Regions from separate parts of the Homo sapiens genome. Here all the other regions are linked to region 3. Evidence: promoter capture Hi-C in human tissues and cell types (Jung and others, 2019). All regions are on one chromosome and are shown on one strand. The core of a region is centred on a gene start or on the middle of the fragment in contact, and the rest is flanking DNA. Distances in the headings are between cores, read along the strand shown. Region 1 overlaps LYPD6B (LY6/PLAUR domain containing 6B). Region 2 has its middle 84 kb from the start of MIR9899. Region 3 holds the start of LYPD6B (LY6/PLAUR domain containing 6B). Region 4 overlaps LYPD6B (LY6/PLAUR domain containing 6B).

Region 1 (5,082 bases), core at 1,756-4,255, 180 kb after region 3:
AAAACCCCAGGACTGGCCTGAATTTGAGTCCTTTCTGCATTAATTGTTAAGAGATCTCTTTTGTAATATGGATATTGAAATTACCTTGTTTCTTGGTTTTGTTTTTTGTTTCCTCTTGCCTAGATACACAGTACTGTTTGACAGTTCATCACTTCACCAGCCACGGAAGAAGCACATCCATCACCAAAAAGTGTGCCTCCAGAAGTGAATGTCATTTTGTCGGTTGCCACCACAGCCGAGATTCTGAACATACGGTAAGGATCGTGTGTGTGTGTTATTGTCTAAACTTTCATCCTAGTAATGTAAGTCGTAGATCAAAGGAGAGGCAGGAAGGATAGTAATATGTGGACCATGTTTACATTTTGAGGAAAGACTCCATACAAAGATAAAATGGAGACCAAAGAACAGACTCCATACAAAGGTAAAATGGAGACCAAAGAACAGAGACTCCATACAAAGATAAAATGGAGACCAAAGAACAGACTCCATACAAAGATAAAATGGAGACCAAAGAACAGAGACTCCGTACAAACATAAAATGGAGACCAAAGAAATGAAGGAACCCTTGTCTTATTCACTGCTTCTGCTTAGATGAGGAAGGGAGTCTGAAGGATTAGCCTCAGTTTAATATGATGAACTGTAGATACCTTTTAGATCAATTGATGGCTTTAACGTTCTCATTCTATCATTCTAAATGAGCATTTCACTCCTTTATATGCCTGGAATTCTGAAATGCTTAAGAAAGAATTACTTGAAAATATGTTCATTTCATGAGGTTTTAGAATTTGATTTACCCTGTAATAAGTACAGAAAATGATTCTCATATCAGTGGCTTTTAACTCTAGCTACACAAGAATCACCTGGGTAGCTTTTACAAGCTCTGCTTGTTGTTGAGGGATGCAGGCCGGCAGGCTCTCCAGACCAGTTGAAATGGAACCTCAGGGTAAGGTCCTGGGTGTCAGGATCTTTTTAAAAAGTTCCCCGAGGTGATTCTGATGTGCAGCCAGGGTTGAGAACCACTGATATGGATGCCTAGAGTTGATGCCTTTATCATACCTAGTCATCCTGGAAGCCTCTATGAATGGCTGGGTTTATCAGGTTGAGACATTGTACCTGGCACGGTTTGGTATTACCTGAAAACATCCCCTGAAAACACCAGTTAGGGACAAGCCTTTATTTTTTCTTACACCACTCAGCAACCATAATTAGTAAACCATTGTTGCTGTAATGATAAGAATCAGGTGTTAGCATAGACAATAGAGAGTCATTATTATCCCCTAACAAGTAGCACTGAGAAAGAAAATCAATGACTAATCCGAAAGGTTCCTAGCTTTCATTTTTGTCTGAGTGTTTTCCCTTACAAACCTTTAGAAGATTTGTGGACTCAATCAAGCACTCTTATGCAGTTTCTCTTCCTCTTTGCCTTGCTAATGCTTGGATTTGATGCAGATAAATCACAGTTAGGATAAAAGACTTTCAGCATGGTTTTTCCCTTCCATTCTATTGGCATTGGTGGGGGAAGGGTACCCAAGAGCCTAGATGATGCAAAATTGGATAACCAACTCCAATTGTCTGTCTTCAGATAGAGCTCAAGAAGCCTTTGTTTTATCTTTCTTTCTTTTGCCCCTTCCCTCTTCTATTATTCACTGTCATTTCCTCTCTCCTTTTTTGTAACAGGAGTGTAGGTCTTGCTGTGAAGGAATGATCTGCAATGTAGAATTACCCACCAATCACACTAATGCAGTGTTTGCCGTAATGCACGCTCAGAGAACATCTGGCAGCAGTGCCCCCACACTCTACCTACCAGTGCTTGCCTGGGTCTTTGTGCTTCCATTGCTGTGATGCCACCATTCCTAGGAGAGGCAGAGACCAGCCTCTAAAGCACAAGCCAAAAACTGTGTGAACGGTGAACTTTGGAGTGAAGATCAATCTTGCACTTGGTGAAGAGTGCACATTGGACCTCAAGGCGAAAGCCAGTGGTTTGCTTGGATAAAATGTTCCCGCATGAGGCCACAGGACTGAGGATGGGAATTTGGCAGGGCCTGAGAAGATGGTCTGACTTCCAGGCTTCCTGGTCAAAGAGAGCTACGTTTGGGCAGTTCTGCAGAGAGGATCCTGGCAACTAGTCCCACCTGACTAGGCCTTTAGCTGAAAGGATTTCTTGACCTCCTTGACTGCCTCAGAGGCTGCCAGGTCAAACCCTCTTGTTTATGTGATTAGCTCAGAGCATCTCTATGAAATCTAACCCTTCCCCTCATGAGAAAGCAGTTTTCCCCACCAACAGCATAGTCAATGAGAAAGGCAACTGTACGAAGAAAACTTCCAGTGGAACTAATATGAAATCTATTTGCAAATTATGGGGGGAAATAAAGCTTTTAAATTATACAATGTAAATGCATGCTTGTGTGTTTCTTGACTGATGTGGAGACCTCTGGTGAAACAGTTACCAGGGTCATAAAATAGACATTTGTGTCCATGAACCGTTGGTGATATGTGTTAAACTATAAAATTTGATGCTGAAGCTATTTAGCTTTTTTCTTTTGGGGGAGAGATGCATTTTAGGATGTTAATACAAACTTAGTGAATTGAGAATATCTGGGAAGCCTCCCTGATAAAGGAAGATGACACCTTGTCATATGATGCACCCTCAGCAGTAGTAGCTTCAAAAGTTCTAGTCACAGAAAGTGGCAAGGGGGGGTCCATTTTCCTCCTTCAGTCATATTCTCTATGCATGCCATGTCTACCAAGAGAACTTCTGTAAATACATGCTAAATGTTTGGTCCCATTCTCTTCTCTTTCCACTTACAGTGCAATCTCTGAATTTCAAATGAGCATCTTCTTCCTGTTTCTAGAATTCTGATTTCCTGCCTTCAGTCACACTTTGGGATGACTTTTAAACTCTCTGCCCTTGTATTTATAGTGATGAGCTAATGGAATGGGTTTTTCCCCCCAATTAAATATCCATCATTAGAATGCTGGGTGCCCTTGTAGGCTCTAGGTATTAATGATGCTATCCTTGCCATATGGGCTCACCTATGACATGAGTTGGCAAATTATGGCCCACAGGCCAAATACATTCCACCACCCATTTTTGTGAATAAGTTTTTATTAAAACACAGCCATGGCCACTTGTTTATGTATTGTGTGTGTCTCCTTTTGTGCTATAATGGCAGGGTTGCAGAGATGCAGCAGAGACTGCATAGTCTGCAAAGTCTAAAAGCTTTACTATCTTGCCCTTTTCAGGAAAAATTTGCTGACCCCTAACCTATGGGATGTCAAGACTGCTTAAGGAGAAAGCCACTTTCTTTGCAGGCACCATGTTGCTAATGGTGGTTACTCAGCCTGAGCAATGGTTGGCCAAATCACTTCCCTTGTTTTCTTTGTCTTCTGAGTCAGTGAATTTGTCTTCTGTTTTGATTGTTTCATGTATTTGATTCCATCTTGTAGTTATGTACTGATGTCAGGGGCTGAGCTGTATTTATGTTTCTTCTCATCCTTGACACACTGGGAGCATTTCATCTTAAGGCTCCTTAGCGTCCTATCAAACAGGGAGGGGGCAGACATCATTATCTCCCTGTCTCTGGCCCAAACTTAGACTCACTTGGTAGCATCAGTTTTGAAGCCTAATGTAGATTTATCCTATCTTTCACTCAGCATCTTGAAGTATTTGCATTTTCATAGCTTATACTTGTTTGAAAATAATTATATATGGCTTCACTTGGAAATTTTAATGGCATCTTTGGCATCTTTTTATTCCCCAGGGTTTCTTTTGACTGTGTAATTGACAAATTGTCTGGTAAAAAACCATTAGCAGACAGCACTTTTTTTTCTCTGATTTTGTTTCTGCTGTATAGATTAATGAAGTTTCTTTTGTGTGTGTTTTTTTCTTTCCTGAGGAAATATCTTAATTTTCTCTTCTTCACCCTGAACATCAAGTTCATATGGATTTCACGTCTCACCTCCATTCCCTTAAGCATTTAAAATCGGGGTATGTTGAGCAAAGGAGGGAGTGCAAAGGAAACAAACTTCTGGTAAAGGCAGCTGAGTGAACAGGGGATTATGAATAAAAATATGGGATTCCCCACCAAATTTGAATTTCAGATAAAATCAAATAATTTTTTGTGTAAGTTATTCATGAACTCACAAGATGGGCTTGTCTAAGGAAATGGTTTCAAATCCTTGTAATAAATCTGAATCTTCTGAGTAACTCCAAAACAAAACAAGTTCCCAGGACATTCTGGAGATGTTGATTCAGTAGCTCTGAGGTGAAGCTCAAGCCTACCCCAATAGCTGAAAGTTAAATTTAAACAAACAAAAGCTCTCGGGTGATGATAATGCTTATCCAGGTGTTACCTCTGATGTGAGAGGATCATTCCTTCTTCTGAAGCCTGCTCCTTGGCCACATAATAGGTATGCTAATAAGTAATAAACACATACACAAGCAACCACGGTTACAGGCATAGCTCTAAAAGTGTGGCCCCACAGCGTCACCTGGAAACTTGTTAGAAATGCAAATCTCAGACTCCATCTCAGACCTATTAAATCAGAAACTCTGCAGGTTCAACCGGTGATTTAACAAGGTCTCCAGGTGCTTCTGATGCATGTGAAAGTTTAAGAACCCCTGGACCAGATAGAAGTGCTCCCTAAAAGTCTTCAGTAAATGTGTCCCTGGTATCTGCATGATTGCTTGGGGGATATTGTAAAAAAAAAAAAAAAAAGAAAGAAAAAAATGAACCTGGGCCCCAACTTCAAAGTTAGATTCTCTGCGTTGAGTCAAAAAATGTGTAGTTTAAAAAAAATTCCTCAAATGATTCTGAAGCACAGCCACTTTGGGTGCCACCAAAGGAAATAATAAAAGATGGAAATGATGTTGGTGATCAGAAGGCCCAGACTCCAAAACCTGACCTTTGAGTTCTAATCTGAAAGCCCTATGTACTTTAAGTTAACTCTGTGGTATCTTCAATGTAATTTAAAAACTAGAATGCAAAAAATAAATTCAATCATTAGAGTCCACTGCATAGATATTTAAAGTCCATTGCATAGGGACCTGGGATGGCCAAGCATCCCAGGCCTCAGATTAAT
Region 2 (4,986 bases), core at 1,238-3,737, 210 kb after region 3:
TTCTTTTCCTCCCTCCCTTCTGCTTTTCCCTCCTCCCTCTTTCTTCCCTTTGCAACTGCAGTTAGGACAAGTAAGGCAGATGCAGTGAAAAGATCTAAGGTTTTTTTGTTTTTTTTTTTCTTTTTCTTCGTGGAAAAGCCTATTCCTGGTGAATATTTTATCATTCCCTTCAAGGAGACAGTTCAACCTTGGTGAAATTGGCTTATACTTGAGATGAATAGATGTCTTTTAGGTCCCATCAGCTCTCTTTCTTCATTGCCCAATTCTCAAAGGTGACTGAGGTATGCACAGAGTATTCCATGACCTCAGAACTTTCGCATTAACACGCTTGGCTAACAAGCTTTTTCTTGGCCTGTGTGTGTTGGCTTATCTCCATTTTTGAATAGAGGAGTAATTAATTTTCAAGCGTTCTTGATTCAGTCACAGAGCTAATGATGTTGAGCATAAAAATACTTCTTCTAAAATGAAATTTATGCCAGTTCACTTCTGTCCAGCAGTTCTTCACTATCAAGCTTCTTTTTTCAGCTTGTTTCAAATTAAGCCTTTTAAACTCTCCTTGTCCTCATTTGAGCCTGTTTTAGAGGAGCAGTCTTGGAGCAACATTGTCATAGTGACCCTCACTTATCTTACCAATTCAGTTCAAAGCTTCTAATTTAGTGGACTCTGTTTATGAGTATTTGTATACATTAGCATAATGTTCTCGGTGACTCCTTGGCCCTTAACTTTTCCTCTGAAAATTTAAGTACCTCTTTCTTGAGATTTCTGTAGACCAGTATCTGGGCATTTGTAATGGTCCTTTAAAATTAAAGTACAATTCATATATTAACATTAAATAAGTGGCTGGCACACTAATCCCATTGTCTTTTTACTTGAGAAGAGAGAATAATAGTGAAAAAATAAAGTAACAAATATAAAGACATCGAATATGCCTGCCTACATATTTGCTTGCTAGCAATATCTTCAGTGCAATAGAATCACATGCTCATGCAGCAGGGAAGTGGGACAAAAGGAGGGATTCCTTCTGTTCCTTTCTTTGTACCAAAACTTTAGGTCAAGTGTTTTTTCCAATTACTCTTTTAATTGTAATTATTTACATTCAAATGTTGATTACCAATGCTAAGGGTGGCAGATTATTTAGGAGTGTCCCTAATCCAAAATTGACTTCAATTTAGCTTTGAAATGCACTTTGGTGCTTTAATTTTAAGATGGGATCATGAAGATTCATAATATTTCACACAACATGTGGTATCTATTTCAATTACTTAAGGAAGTAAGTAAGCTGAAAAGCGGGTAGTAATGTGTTCAGAGTGTGGACAGCATCAGACATACCAGAATTCTCATCAAGACTATGCCATTGTAGAAAAAAAAGTGACCTCAGGAATGGTGATAGTACTTATCTCATCAGATATTTGAAAGGATTAAAAGAGAGAAAAGCATGTAATCACTTAGCAAGGGGCTCAGTACATGATAAGCTTCCAATGTGAATTATTATTATTGTACTATTTGAATGCATCAACTATTGGATGTATGTATTGGATTTTTGAAATGTCAGACAAGGTTTCATGTCAAAATCTTTTAAAAATGTATTATCATAGGCTTTGGAAAATATGTTATCAAGGATAAGAAACCAGACGAATGCCAGTAAATGTAAACTAAGAACTACATAAGTACTTCTCTGGATCAGCAAGGCCAAATGTGAGGTCGTGTAGGAGCTGGTGCTGGGCCTATACATTTTTATGTCTTTTATAATTGTTTTGAAGGCAGGAGAACAGAAGTTGCCAACTTTGCAAAAATACTCAAGAAACTCTAGGAATGTCTAGTAGCTATTTTTTTTTTTTTTTTTTTTTTTTTTTTAGAAAGCTAACATAAGGATCTGTTCTGGAGTGTTTCAAAATGAGGCAGATGAGCTTCAATGTGGCAAATACAAATAATGCATTTTTTATAACATGTATGAAAGGTGAGCTAACAGCTTTGGTGCAGGCCAACCAGACTGGTTGCTGTCTTCCTTAAAGCTGCCAAAAAGGCCTAGGAAAGGCTGGGCAAGAGATGGAGGGAGGCTCCTCAATGCAGAGTTTCCCCCCCTCCTATGTAATCACTGCACATTGTGAACTTAGGAAAAACATAATGAATGTGGACCCAGTCCAAAGAAGGCAGCAAAACTGATCAGGAAGCCGGAAGAACATGTATAAAAAGAAACTCCAATGCTGGCGTTTCATCAGCAGCGTCTGAAACCTTAGAAATGTTGAAGCTGGGAATATTCAGAGAGAATATACCAAACACATTAACACAATTATTAAATATGAAAATGAATTTGTTGATTAAATTTTGGCCTATTAAGATAGGTGGGATACTCCTCAAGGTTTAAAAGAGATTGTTAGTACATATGAAAAAAAGAAATAGTTTCAGAGCAATAATGAATATATGAAACTTATCAAATCAAATAAATAAAAATAATGTAACTTAAAGATGGTAATAATGAATTATTAGATTAGAGCTTCAGATCATGTTATTTGGACAAAAGAAGGAAGTTTAACTTAATGATAATGCCCCAGTTGGCAACTTCAACACATGGTTTCATTTTCTTCGTTTCATTATAGGAAAATTAGATTGAATTGTTCATCAGTCCTATACAGTAAGGCAATGTCTCCTTTTTTTAATGTGTTAGTCAATTTGATAAATGTATTGTATTCTTTTATGAGATGGTCAGTCGGGTGTGGCCATAAGAAGAGATATAGGAGAAGCTCAGGAAAACAAAGTCTGTTATGCTTACAGATCCTGAAGACAAGAGGAACGTCATGCCACACCACACAAGGCCACGTGAGAAAGACACCAGGTGGTCAGAAGGAAGAAGAGTTTAGGCCACTGCCTTTATTGTGGTTCCCCAGAAAAAGGCAAGGCAGGGCCAGGTAAATAGTTTTGGACTGGCTAGCTTGAATAATTTCCTCAGGCTTTGGACTTAGGTGTGGTGCCTAGTTATCTGGCACCTGGCCTGGGGATGATCAGACAAAAGAATATTACCCGCTGGGGTGTATGGCCAGATAGAGGAGGTGTGGCTCCGGATTGGTTAGTTTGCACATATATGTGACACAGGCTGGGCCCTTTGCTACCTGTAAGAACTGACCAGCCCCAAGAAGGGCAGCTTCTCACTAGCCAGGAAGATTTTTTAAGATGTCAAAACATAAAATACAGAAAATTAAAAAAGAAATTTGCAATAAGGTAAAAAATCTATTTTGATAAAAATTTTAATTGAAATATAATATGCATATAGAAATATGCACGAATCAAAGTGTTTGATGAATTAGCACAAAGTTAACACACTCACATACTACCATCTAGATCAGGAAATTGAACATTCCCAGCATCCCAAAACGTCACTGACACCTTCCCAATCCCTATACCCTTCTTCCCCCTGCCCTTTCCCCAGCCAAAGGTGACCACTGTCATAACCTCCCATACCATAGATTAAGCTGCCCTATTTTTGAGCTTCTTACAAAAGCAATTATATGGTATATATTCTTTATTTGTCTGACTTTATTCAAAATTATGTTTGGGAGATTCATTTATATTGTATACTGTGGTAGTTTATTCATTTTTATTGCTGGTTATTATTCCTTTATATGAATATACCATAATTTATCCATTCCAATAGTGGACATTTGGGTCATTTCCACCTTGGGGCCATTAGGAACGAAGCTACCATTGCTATCTTGTATGTGTGTTTTGGTGCACATTTAAAGACTGTCGAGTATACACCTAGGAGATGGATTCAGAGAGCACAGGGTATGCCTGTAATGAACAAATTTTGGAAAAAAGATAGAAAAATTCTGCAAGTTCCTTTCTCTACATCAACTCCTCAATGTTTTCTGCATGTTGGAAACTATCTTTTCTGCCAAACGAAGCAAGGAACTGACCTTTACTTCTGGGTCAATACTAAAAGGAGAAACACGCATTCTGAAGCTGCTGGGTGTCATGGCTTATTGGGCAGTTTCAGACCCTTAGAATTTAGTAACTCTGTGAATCTCCATGAAAGGTGCTGCTTTCATGGCACCTGCCTTCCTCAGGCTGCAGAATTTGCTTTCACATGTGGATAAAGCTTCTTCGCATTAACAACTCTGTAACATCTGGAAGTGGACTTTGATATTTTCCTTTGCTAATAGATACTGTCTAATGAAGGATGAATTGCAACCTGACGTTTTCTGAGACTTCAGGTGGGGCTGCCTGGTACATTGCTTTATTAATGTTAGATGATTGGAATTTTTGGATCTGCACCTAGGGGACACTCAAGGGTTTAGAGTAGAAGGTATGGGTGCTATCCTTTCACTGACTGTTTGAATGCAAACAAAGTGCTGCTTTTGTAAAACATTTAACATCCCAAAGAAAGGATTCAGTCAGCACCCCTTCATTGAGTACGTCTGATTCCCGCAAGATTGATATGACTTGCGTATTCCGCAGAGACCTCATTTAGCCTTTACATTGTGTTTGGTTACGTATGGAAACATAGTGCCAAACTTAATTTCGTATCTGCAATTTTTGAGCACTTGCTGAGTGTTTTATGTGTATGACCTCATTGGCTTTTCCAAACAACCCTATGAGTAAGATGCTACTATTTTCTTATAAATGGAACAATGAAGACTTATAACAGTGAAGTACCAATGGTAAGTTAAGTGGCCCTCATTGGAGGCAGATTCAGAACTCAAATGCAAGTTTTCATGAATTCTACTACTGAAATTGTGGGCCATTTTGTATACATTCTCCTTGCTCCCTACTGGACTGTTTTGGTCTTTGATTTGTGATCAATCTAGTGTTACTTCTTGGTTAGTAAGTTGGCAGGCTTCAGGTCTCTGTCCTGTAGGAGTATTTTCATCATTACTGTCTTCCTTCAGTTATGGCCTCAGAATTCTCTCAGCCAAGGAGGTGGGTACTGTCTCTGCTCCCAAGCCCATTAGATTATATTCTGGCACTTTTGCGCAAGGGTATACCCAGCAC
Region 3 (5,613 bases), core at 2,045-4,544:
CCCTAGTTTATAAGACAGGAGAAAAGGGAGAAAGCAAAAAGTTGGAAAGAAACAGAAGTAAGATAAATAGCTAGACGACCTTGGCACCACCACCTGGCCCTGGTGGTTAAAATAATAATAATATTAACCCCTGACCAAAACTACTGGTGTTATCTGTAAATTCCAGATGTTGTATGAGAAAGCACTGTAAAACTTTTTGTTCTGTTAGCTGATGTATGTAGCCCCCAGTTACGTTCCTCACGCTTACTTGATCTATTATGACTTTTTCATGTAGACCCCTTAGAGTTGTAAGCCCTTAAAAGGGCCAGGAATTTCTTTTTCGGGGAGCTCGGCTCTTAAGACATGAGTCTGCCGATGCTCCTGGCCAAATAAAAAAAACTCTTCCTTCTTTAATCTGGTGTCTGAGGAGTTTTCTCTGCGACTCGTCCTGCTACACTACTATGTGCCAGGAATGCTACACACATTGTCTCATTGAAAAATGTCCTCAGAAAATGATATACAGTATTTTTTATTTTATTTTATTTTTTTTGAGATGGAGTTTCACTGTTGTGGTCCAGGCTGGAGTGCAATGGCAGGATCTCGGCTCACTGCAACCTCTGCCTCCTGGGTTCAAGCAATTCTCCTGCCTCAGCCTCCCAAGTAACTGGGATTACAGGTGCCCGTCACCACGCCCGGCTAGATATACATTATTAATATACATGTTGAGTCCTAAGTAAAGACAGGAAAAATTAGGAAGGTAAATATATCCTAAGGCTCAGAAGTTTTTTGGATTGTTGCTTCTTTGGATAATTTATATTTCATTATATTATCAGAGAACTAGAGATAGAGCAGAAACTGAAGATTTTCTAGTTCAAATATCATTCTCCTAGAGACCAGTAGAGAATAGCAATAAATAGTTATTTGTAAAGATTAATTAATTCATTCTAGAGTCTTATGAAGTCTATCAGTGGTTTTGTCCCTATTTCCAGCATTTTAATGTTGATCAGAAGTGGGCTGGCTCTCTTTGCACTGCTAGGCAGAGCTACTGTTCACTGAGCAGGTGCTTTGTGCTGGCGCTGTGCTCAAGCACTTTACGTGGATTATTTAACTTAGCCACACAACAGTATCAGAACTTCTTATTTCAGATACCCCTTTTAAGCAAAAAACTTCAAACAGAGATCTTGTCTGATTTCATGGCTGCACATTTTCCAAGTAGGAAAAACACACAATTGAGGAACATGCCCAAGGCTGCTCAGCAAGCACAGGAGAGAGAGTGGGGTGGGGAGGGAGAGATCACGTGCAAGCAAGCAAGCACTGGGGCAGAACCTGTACCCTCCTGATGATTCTCAGGCCTGTCTGGGTGGCATCACTTAGCAGGCTGGCCCAGCCAAGATCACACGCACAGCAGCAGGATTTTAAATCACAGGGGATCACATGCTCTACTGACTGAAACCAACACAAAAAAAGGTCTAGGTCCATTTCATGTGAGTGAGACCCAGAGGTGCTCCTTTGCTCAGCCCTACCTGCTGGTGCAAGTGGCTGTCCCAAAGTGCAGGCCCCACCACAGCTCCACCCTGGGACACCAGATTCCCTGCCACCATAGAGGGAGTAGCAACTGAGGTAGGGCACACCTAGGTGGGGCATCCCATATAACCTTTTCTAGGTTGGCCTTGCCCAGTGTGACGTAGCCAGCCAGGTAACACCAGATCTGAAATACCCATATGTGCAGAACCCACTGAAGGGGTGGGGTGTCTAGACCTTAAGAGTGTTGGGCTTGTTGTCAGTGGAGGGGTGGAGCAGTCTTCTTGGCCCTGACCTCACCTTAATAGAGATCCTCCCATTTTGGCCTTGGAGGTTTAATATATAGTCACGGAAGTGTACTGAAATAGTCATAAGAAGGAATGTTCTCCATACAACTTTAAAGTTGTACAGTGCTTTCTGCAGTGAAATGAATTTTTTCACGGAATGGATTTTTTTAACGAGTCTTGAAATTAACATGTGAGGAGCAGCATGACACATTACCTCGTGTGTGTGTGTGTGTGTGTGTGTGTGTGTGTGTGTGTGTGTGAGTGAAGGCCATTTGTTAAATGGAACACCTAAAAATACCATTGTTTTTGTTTTTGCGGTTGTCAGGGGCCTCAATAAATGCAAGCTGGCTCAGGAGATGCTTGACCTCAGAGGTCTGGAAAGACAGATTAGAAGTCTCAGCAGAGGACCAAACCCAGACCCCACTTCTGCAGAAGTTCTGTACCCAGGTTTCCCCACTGCAGGCATAACCAGCAGCCCCTCAAAGGCCCCAGACCAGCCAACTGTCTTTAGAAATGCAGACCCAGGATCAGCTTTGCTACCAGCCATGGAATCTTGGGTCAGTGGCCCATACTCTGAGCTGTGTTTCCACAGTGCAAGGCTGGCCGGACAGTGTTTTATTTCAGAGTTCTCCTGTCTGTGGCATCTTCAGAAGTTAAAGATTTGCTTGACCACTATAAGGTGCCCTGGGAGTGTAGACCTCCCACATCCCAGCTGCCTGGCTGGCAGTGGGTGGGGAGTAAGCAGTAGAGAGAGGACAGGTGGCCCGGAATCTAACAGCTTGCCTCTGGATTCTCCCTAGTAAGCTTGGAATGATGCTGGAGCAGCTCTGGGCCGAGGGGACCAGTCTAACGCTGGACGCAAAAGACTGGGCGCCACCTAGTCTGTTCATCAGGTATTAAATGCCCTGAGTTTTCAAAGCTCTGGTGATTCAGTAGTGGACGGGTAAGGTTCCTGCCTCTCCTGGGGCTTACCGTCCAGGGGTGGGGAGGACGTCACTATATGAAATTATCTTATTTATAGCTTAATGTCATTATTTAAAAAGGGGGAGGGAATCACTTGACGGGTGGGCAAGGTGGGGACGGGGTTGGATGGAATGGTCAAAAAAGGTCTTTCAGAGTTCTTCCAATCCTGAACTAACTCACCTGCACCCTTGGCCCAATCATTTTCACTCCCGAGGGTCTGCACTCCTCGTTTCTACATTGGTTTTCTAGGAAGAAAGGGGTTGGACCCTCCCCTCTTTAAGCTGGGTGGGGTCCGAATCCCGTGCTTCTTTCACTTCCTGAGCCGGGCTGGCTGGGTGGGAACAGGCTCCTTGCCGCCTCCCCAGCGCTGGCCACTACCACACTGCCGCCCGCCTGGGCCTCCTTTCAACCTCGTGGTGGAGCCCTGCGGTTTCCCAGCGGAGCCGGGCCCGGGGCTGCTCCCTCGCGGGCGAGGCTCACCTGTCCCGGCCCGGCCCCCTCCCGCGCCCCAGGTGGTTCAGGGCAGGGAGGAGCCGCGCCCCGCCCCGCGCGGTAGCAGCCAACGCCGGCCCCAGGCGGGTGCGCTGGGAGCCTGGGCCGGGAGCCGGGTGAGGGCGCCGAGAGGCTCGGTGGGCGCGGGCGGCGAGGTGAGCTGGGCCAGCGCAGCAGGCGGGGGCGGTGGTGGGTTCGGGACGGCTCACCCCGCGCCGGAGCGAGTGCGGGGCCGCGCGACTGCGGCGGGAGATGCGCTGCGCCCCTTCTGGGCGCGCTGGGGCAGCCAGGAGCTCGCGGGGCCGCGGGGCCGCGGGGCCGCGGGGCCGCGGCGCAGTGGCGGGGTCGGGGTCTGGTCGCTGCCTCGAGGCGAGCAGCTGCCAACATCTGGACGGGACGGGAGCAGGGGGCCGGGGCAAGGCTGGAGCGGTGTGGGTCTCTAATCGTCCAGAGCCCTGCGGGGCCAGTGACTTCGGCAGAGCCGAGGGGAGAGGAGATACTGGGGGTCAAACTGCTGGAGAGAGCGCGGAGCTGGGGCTGGGGTTCAAGGCCGATCGTGGGGCCAAGAGCGAGCGTGCCAGCTCCAGTGTTTCCCCCTGCAGCGCTTCACGCGCGACCAGCTTGGGTGCCGCCGCTTCCCTTGCCCCGGCTCTTTACTTTTGTTGTTGAATAACCTACCTTACACATTGGTTAGTTACCTGGGGCTTCTCAAAAGCCGGGTCTGGAGGCTGCTCTGACTCCAGGGGGCTTGGGTTGTGAGGCTTCAGGTCTGTATGCCCTGTGGCGTTTGGGGGGAGCTGGTGGGTGGAGGGGTGCTGTCCACCTCCCAAGGCCAGGGGATCAGAGAGTGGGAAAAGTCTAGAATGCTATTTAAATTCCAGTAACTAGCTGTGTGACCTTGGGCAAGTTACTGAACTGCTCTGAGCCTCAGTTCCCTTAAAGTAAAATAGGTATTATTAATATTATAATCATTACAACAGACTTAGGTTATATGATGTTCATGGAGTACATAGCATACTGCTTGATTTTTCCCCCTTTGTGTTGATGTGGTGATGTGTGTGTTGTGGGGTGGGGGCATTCTTTCCCACCCTGACTTGTTCATGGTTAGGCTTCCTCCAGGATGCCTTACTTGCTGACAGCATCACAGAGGCCAAGATTAGGGCTGCCAGTGCACGGGCCCTGCAGATGGAGGGGGTGTTGTCAGACTGCCCTCATCATTACCCATCGTATTTGTCAGAATTGTTTTCTTTGGGTTGGGTTTTGGTCACTTGAAAATTGCCTTATACTATGTAGAAATTGATTGGGTCACATAAATGAAAAGGTCGAGGGTTTCAGTTTAAAGCTATAGCTAGTTCCAGAGGCTCATACAAGGTTCCAGGGCTAGTTCTCTCTCTTGTATATCTTAGCTGTTTTTCTCTCTGTGTTTACTGGTTCTTAGTATGGACGATAAATAGGACTTGCACCTTCAGGCTTATCTGCTCCTTCAGAGAGAGAGACAGAGACAAAGAGGGAGAGAGAGAATCCCATCTTCTCTATCCGTATAGCAGTCTCTCTCTGTCTCTCTCTCTCTCTCTCTTTTTTTTTTTTTCTTTTGAGACAGACTCTCACTCTGTCACCCAGGCTGGAGTGCAGTGGTGTGATCTCGGCTCACTGCATGCAACCTCCACCTCCCAGGTCCAAGCGATTATCCTGCCTCAGCCTCCCAAGTAGCTGGAGTTACAGGCGCCGGCCACCACGTGGGACTAATTTTTGTATTTTTAGTGGAGATGAGGTTTCACCATGTTGGCCAGGCTGGTCTCGAACTCCTAACCTCAAGTGATCTGCCCGTCTTGGCCTCCCAAAGTGCTGGGATTATAGGAGTGAGCCACTGCACCCGGCCCCTTATAGCAATCTTATTGACATACTGGACCAAAACAGAACCAAGCCATCTCAGCAGACAGGGAGAGGTTTACACAACAGGAATGGGCACATGACCGACTGTGATTGATAGACTGGCCCACCTCTGCTGCAAGGCATGTCGGTAGGGGGCGCAATTCCCAATGAGAAGTCTGACAAAACAGGACATGTTCATTTTACTATCTCTGTCTTTGCTCACCAGCGCCTAAAGGTAGTCTGCAGTAGAATGTAGACAGCCTGAGGGCCGTATTCCATCAGTCAAGTCTTCATCTAATGCATGGAGGGCATCCTGTGTGTCCATCTTTTCATTCATTGTTTTTTGTTTATTCATTCATTCGACATATAATAAATGCTCAACATATGCCAGGGCCTCTGCCAAGGGCGAAAATGCTTGCTTTTGAGAAGCTCACAGTCTAGTTGGAAAGACAGATATGAGGATAACATCGTCTAGGACTCATCTGTCTGGGGACGTAGT
Region 4 (5,070 bases), core at 2,356-4,855, 160 kb after region 3:
ACAAGATGAGAAAACAGTTACCAGAATCTAGGAGATGGTAGCTGCAGAGTTGGCCACCTGCTAGGAGCTGTGGGACATGATGATAACCTGATGGGGAGGGAGTCAGGGGAATAAATACCCAGTCTCACTGTCTTTCCATCTGCCAGTCTACCAGCACCTGCTATTGGCCAAACCAAACCAGCAGCCAGTGGAAAGGGAACTATGTGAGCATTCTTTAGCTCAGCTTCCCAGAGCACAGTGTAGGGTGGAGAGGGATAGAGGGTGTTTCTGGAGAAGCAAAGAGGGAAGCCAAGGAGAGTTCATTTCCCTTTCACCGACTGGGATAGCTTGGGAAGGTGGTGTGATTGTAGTGTATTTCAAGCCCCACACAGTGTGTGTTGAATCACAGGTGAATGTACTAGGCCGTTGTTGAACAGACCTTCAGTTGCTGAAAATGGAGTTCTCATAATTTCCACGTGGGTAACTTAAAAGAAGAATGTTGTTAAAAGATTGTTACAAAACTTAAAACATTGTTCACTTAAATGAACAATCAAAATAGAAATGGCAATTCTGTTGGCAAAAAAGGTGAAAAGTCATTTTTTTAAAATTTGCAATATCTGCAAGCGTATGAGGTCTGTGTTCACTTAGAGACCTTCAGCCCATCTCCAAACATAGACTGGGCCTTCTCTGCCCAACCCATTGCTAAGCAAGGAAGGACAGTCTGTGTCCACAAGCAAACTCCAAGCTTTCTTCAGGCTAGAGACCAACTCATGGGCTGGAGTAGGCATGGAAAGATTTTGTGAATGAAAAATATATGAACTGGACCTTCAAAGCAGAATGGGAAGTATGACACACACTTGAGGCAATAAAACAATGATACGAATGAAAGCACAGAGCCTGTTGCTTTTTAAAGCAAATGCTATGAGAACTACTGCGTGTTATTTATGAGTATAGGCAAATCATATAGATTTACCAGAAGGCTGATAAATGGAAATGCTCCAGTGAAGCCTAAATACTGCTCTCACATGTATGTTAGAGTAGTTTTCTTAAAATTGGTCTTCAGAGGAATTTTACATTCTGCTGTCATATGTGCTCAGATAATCATAGAATTTGAGAGCTGAAAATATGTATATTGAATTTCAGTCTTAAATCTTGTCAGCTATTGTATGGCCTTAATGATATTGGCCTGTATGATCATCCATAGAGGAACAATAAATCTCTGTATTGAGCTTTCTAAGTGATTTAATAATTTGACAAAAATGGAAATAGATAGGGGCTTATTTTTTATTCTCCTTTAATTTGCATAAAACTCTCTGCAATATAGGTATTTGATATCTCTATTTTACTGATAGGGAAACAGTCTCAGAGCAATCCAGTGATCAGCTAGAGGCAGTAGATCCTGGACAGAGCTAGAATTTGCCCCCAGGCCTGAGTGCCTCCAGAGGCCGGTTTCTCCCCATTATACTAGGCAGCATTTACACTTGACTTTACCCTTGTGGGACCATGAACCGTATCGTGAACCATTTAATGTAGTTTTTCATTTTGCAATTAAAACACTATTTAACATACATAATTTTTCAGTTTCCAGGGAATATGAAATTATGCACATATATATCTTTATATATGTACATTTCCTTCTGCTCCAAGTGGTAATAGTGGCAATTTATGGAGCAAGTGACACGCTGTAACTTTGTTATATATTCAGAATGCAGAAATTTTTTATTAGTATTGCTTTTATAAGCTTGTCAGCTTCCAGAGAGTTCTTTGAATAATCTGTTCTGGATTTTGTGACTATGCAAAAGTCAGCATGATATTCTTTGCCATAGCATGCAGTTTATTGTTCGTTTTTAAATGCCCTCCTGTTTCAAAATGATAGATATCTACAAACATGTTCTTTACTTGGGTAATATATTTCTAGATGTGGATTCAAGAATAAAGTTGAGTGAGTGGGGGCTTTATAAACAATGGTCAGCGACATGAAACCCTAGGACAGAAGTAAAAAGACAGGACAGATGCATAGTAACAATTCTGCATCGTGCAGCTCTCCCAGTTGAAAGATAACCATGTGGGTGCTGAAGGCAGTTGAGATTATAGGGAATACTGTCTCCTAAACAGAGTTCTAGGGACAATTTTACAATCTGGCACACAGTGCTTAAGCAATGAATTCATTCAATAAAATATATGTATGTCTGTGTATATGCACATATACACATATCCAAACACACATATACAGAGACATTTCTCAAGTGAGAAACACATCTGTATGAAAACTTTATTTTTACGATCATTTTTCTATGTCAGCTGAGGCTAAACGAAGTCAAAAAGTGCTAGCCATCACCTTACACACCGAGTGACCCTGAATGCTAAATTTCCTCAACTGAATGCCACGTATTAGAGTGCATTTGTGGCATGATACACTCCTCCACTCAACCAATGTCGAGTAATGGACTGTTAGCCAGCTGCAGGACATTTCAGCCTCCATTTCTCTTAAGAGAGCTTTGATTGGTTATTAAAAGAAATGAGTTCAATAAAGAGAGCAGCTCTCCTGCAGAACTTCTGTCCACCTATATCTTTCTCTCAAGTATAAAGACACTCCTCTCCCATGGAAAAGAAAAACAAATCTTTCATTTATATACCTGATAGCAGAAGGGTCTGTATAGAATTACCTTTCCATGTTATGTCCTTGGCTTTTTTAAAGAAATGGTCAGGCTAGACACGGTGGCTCATGCCTGTAATCCCAGCACTTTGGGAGACCGAGGCGGGCAGATCACAAGGTCAAGAGATCGAGACCATCCTGGCCAACATGGTGAAACCCCGTCTCTACTAAAAATACAAAAATTAGCTGAGCGTGGTGGCACACGCCTATAGTCCCAGCTACTCAGGAGGCTGAGGCAGGAGAATCGCTTGAACCTGGGAGGTGGAGGTTGCAGTGAGCCGAGATCGCACCACTGCACTCAAGCCTGATGATAGAGCGAGACTCTGTCTCAAGAAAAATAAATAAATGGCCAAATGATGGATGCATCTGGAGGTCCTCAAAACGAATTTCAGGTGTTATTCATATGTTGCTTGGTGCCCCCTATATTGTAGCTGGTATGACTCATTAATTAGAGAATTAAGTATCAGGAAGAGTTATCTTTTCTCAAATAATGAGAATCAGTGCGTCCCATGTCTCCCCTGGCTTCTAGGAAGTACAGAGCAAAGGGAAATGCACAGCTGAGTGCTTCGTTCATGGAAGGGGTTAGGATCTTTGCTATCCTCTCATCCAGTATGGGTTTTATTCAGTATTTTAAGAGCTTTAATGCATACATGACTTGGCATAAGCCTCCTAAAAATCATTTATGGAAACAAACAGGGTAAAAATTATTTCACCTGTGTGAAGGAGACTCTCAAATGTGATCAACGCACTTATTAGGTTCCTACCATTTGTCCAAATAGTTGGATAAGACATGGCAAACCAATCTTGATTCTTTTTAAAGGGAGTTTCTAATTCCTAAACATCTAAGCTTTTCTTTTTTTTTTTTTCTTTTCTTTTTTGTGAGACAGAGTCTCGCTCTGTCACCCAGGCTAGAGTGCAGTGGCATGACCTCGGCTCACTGCAATCCCCGCCTCCTAGGTTCAAGTGATTCTCCTGCCTCAGCCTCCTGAGTAGCTGGGATTACAGGCACGTGCCACCAGCCGAGCTAATTTTTGTATTTTTTAAGTAAAGACAGGGTTTCACCATGTTGGTCAGGCTGGTCTCGAACTCTTGATCTCATGATCTGCCCACCTTGGCCTCCCAAAGTGCTGGGATTACAGGCATGAGCCACCGCGCCTCACTGCTTTTAAATTTTTTCTATGTGGAGCTCTTACCATGTTACCTTTCTGGTGTCATGAAAGCCTTCTCCAGAAAGGTATAAAATCCTGTCTTTGACAGAAATGTAGTTGAAGAGCTGTTACCTTAGAAGAGTCTTTTAGGTTTTTCTTAAAATTTGAATCACATTTAAAAAGATGTCTTTAAAATTGATTAGACTGTTTCTCCACCCAAATTATACACTTATGGGCCATGTATTAATTCATGATTAGATTGAAAATTGATTTGCATAATGAAATTATTTTAACATCAGTGCTGCTTTAGACATTCTCTTTGATCAGGTTGCATGTAGTAGAAAAAGCTTCTGTCTTTGGCATTGCAAAATATACAGCTTTATACTTAAAAAATGAGTTACTTATTTCTGATGAGTTTTTGATCCTATGCTTGATGAGATTTTTTGTAAGTTTAGATTATTTAAAGCAGTACAGCAGGAATCTGAAATGTGATGGGACTGCTGTATTACATTTATGACTCTTTATGGAATAACTAGAATTCTTCATTAATCTCTTTCCATAAAAATTACAGAATATTAGAAGTGGAAGGGACCTTGGCAGTCATTCATTCCAACTTTCCCTTGGTTGCAATAGAGAGAATTTCTAAATCTTAAGAAATCAGTGCACAGAACTCAATCCTGTTGACCAGATTTACTCCAGCCAGTATGCGATGAAGCTGAACATTTATGCCACTTGATCTGATCTCTATTCTGCTGCTAATGATGTCTAAAGCAAGGGCGAAGGAGGGAGAAATGCGGGAAGCAGGCACCTAAGATTTCTTGAACCCCATCTAAGTAAAATGTATTTTACTTATGTAATTGTGCTCAATCCACACCACAACTTAGAAGTTTCCTGTGTGACTCTAAGACTCACTTTTCTTACTGGCAAATGGGCACAGTATTTCTTAACTCTGTGGTCACCTGATTGGTAAATGTAGAACCAGAATTTTCTTCTAGGTATTTCTGAACCTAAAGCTCATTGTTATTCCTCCTCTCAAAGATGATTGTATTAATTCTTGTCAGTCACATCTTACCAGTGGCTCATATTGACTTTTGGTCCCAATAATTTTTGAGCGCACAAGGACGGTGTGCTCAGTACAGTACCTGGTACAAATGCATGACTTATAATTGCACTACTTTCAAGGTTTGGACAAGCTATAGTGAAGGCTGAGGCTGAATCATGATTTTATTTTTTCCTATTGAATGTTGTTATCCAAGAGTAAAGTCTGTTGTGCTCTATAGAGATCTA

Evidence for each region. The method cuts DNA at HindIII sites, captures the fragments that hold promoters and counts their contacts. A contact is called where the count stands out against the background at its distance.
Region 1: a fragment that was not itself captured here is called in contact with the fragment with the promoter of LYPD6B in region 3 in 4 of the 25 tissues and cell types used here (bladder, mesenchymal stem cells, pancreas and 1 more).
Region 2: a fragment that was not itself captured here is called in contact with the fragment with the promoter of LYPD6B in region 3 in 4 of the 25 tissues and cell types used here (H1 embryonic stem cells, bladder, liver and 1 more).
Region 4: a fragment that was not itself captured here is called in contact with the fragment with the promoter of LYPD6B in region 3 in 2 of the 25 tissues and cell types used here (H1 embryonic stem cells and spleen).

Annotation. Positions count from the first base shown.
Region 1 is chr2:149,212,869-149,217,950 of GRCh38, forward strand. It overlaps LYPD6B (LY6/PLAUR domain containing 6B), which reads left to right. Exons shown (of 7, transcript NM_177964.5): 6 at 124-254; 7 at 1,678-2,394. The coding sequence ends at 1,842. Among named protein-coding and RNA genes, the nearest start is that of MIR9899, 110 kb to the right of the region's middle. The HindIII fragment of the contact is 4,926 bases long and covers 543-5,082 here.
Region 2 is chr2:149,244,286-149,249,271 of GRCh38, forward strand. No RefSeq gene overlaps it. Among named protein-coding and RNA genes, the nearest start is that of MIR9899, 84 kb to the right of the region's middle. The HindIII fragment of the contact is 4,122 bases long and covers 427-4,548 here.
Region 3 is chr2:149,035,405-149,041,017 of GRCh38, forward strand. It overlaps LYPD6B (LY6/PLAUR domain containing 6B), which reads left to right and starts at 3,295. Exons shown (of 7, transcript NM_177964.5): 1 at 3,295-3,397. RefSeq lists enhancers at 2,365-2,424, 3,638-3,687, 3,728-3,787 and silencers at 3,048-3,387, 3,398-3,557. The HindIII fragment of the contact is 10,219 bases long and covers 1-5,613 here.
Region 4 is chr2:149,194,546-149,199,615 of GRCh38, forward strand. All of the region lies in intron 3 of LYPD6B (LY6/PLAUR domain containing 6B), which reads left to right. Among named protein-coding and RNA genes, the nearest start is that of MIR9899, 130 kb to the right of the region's middle. The HindIII fragment of the contact is 4,767 bases long and covers 1,223-5,070 here.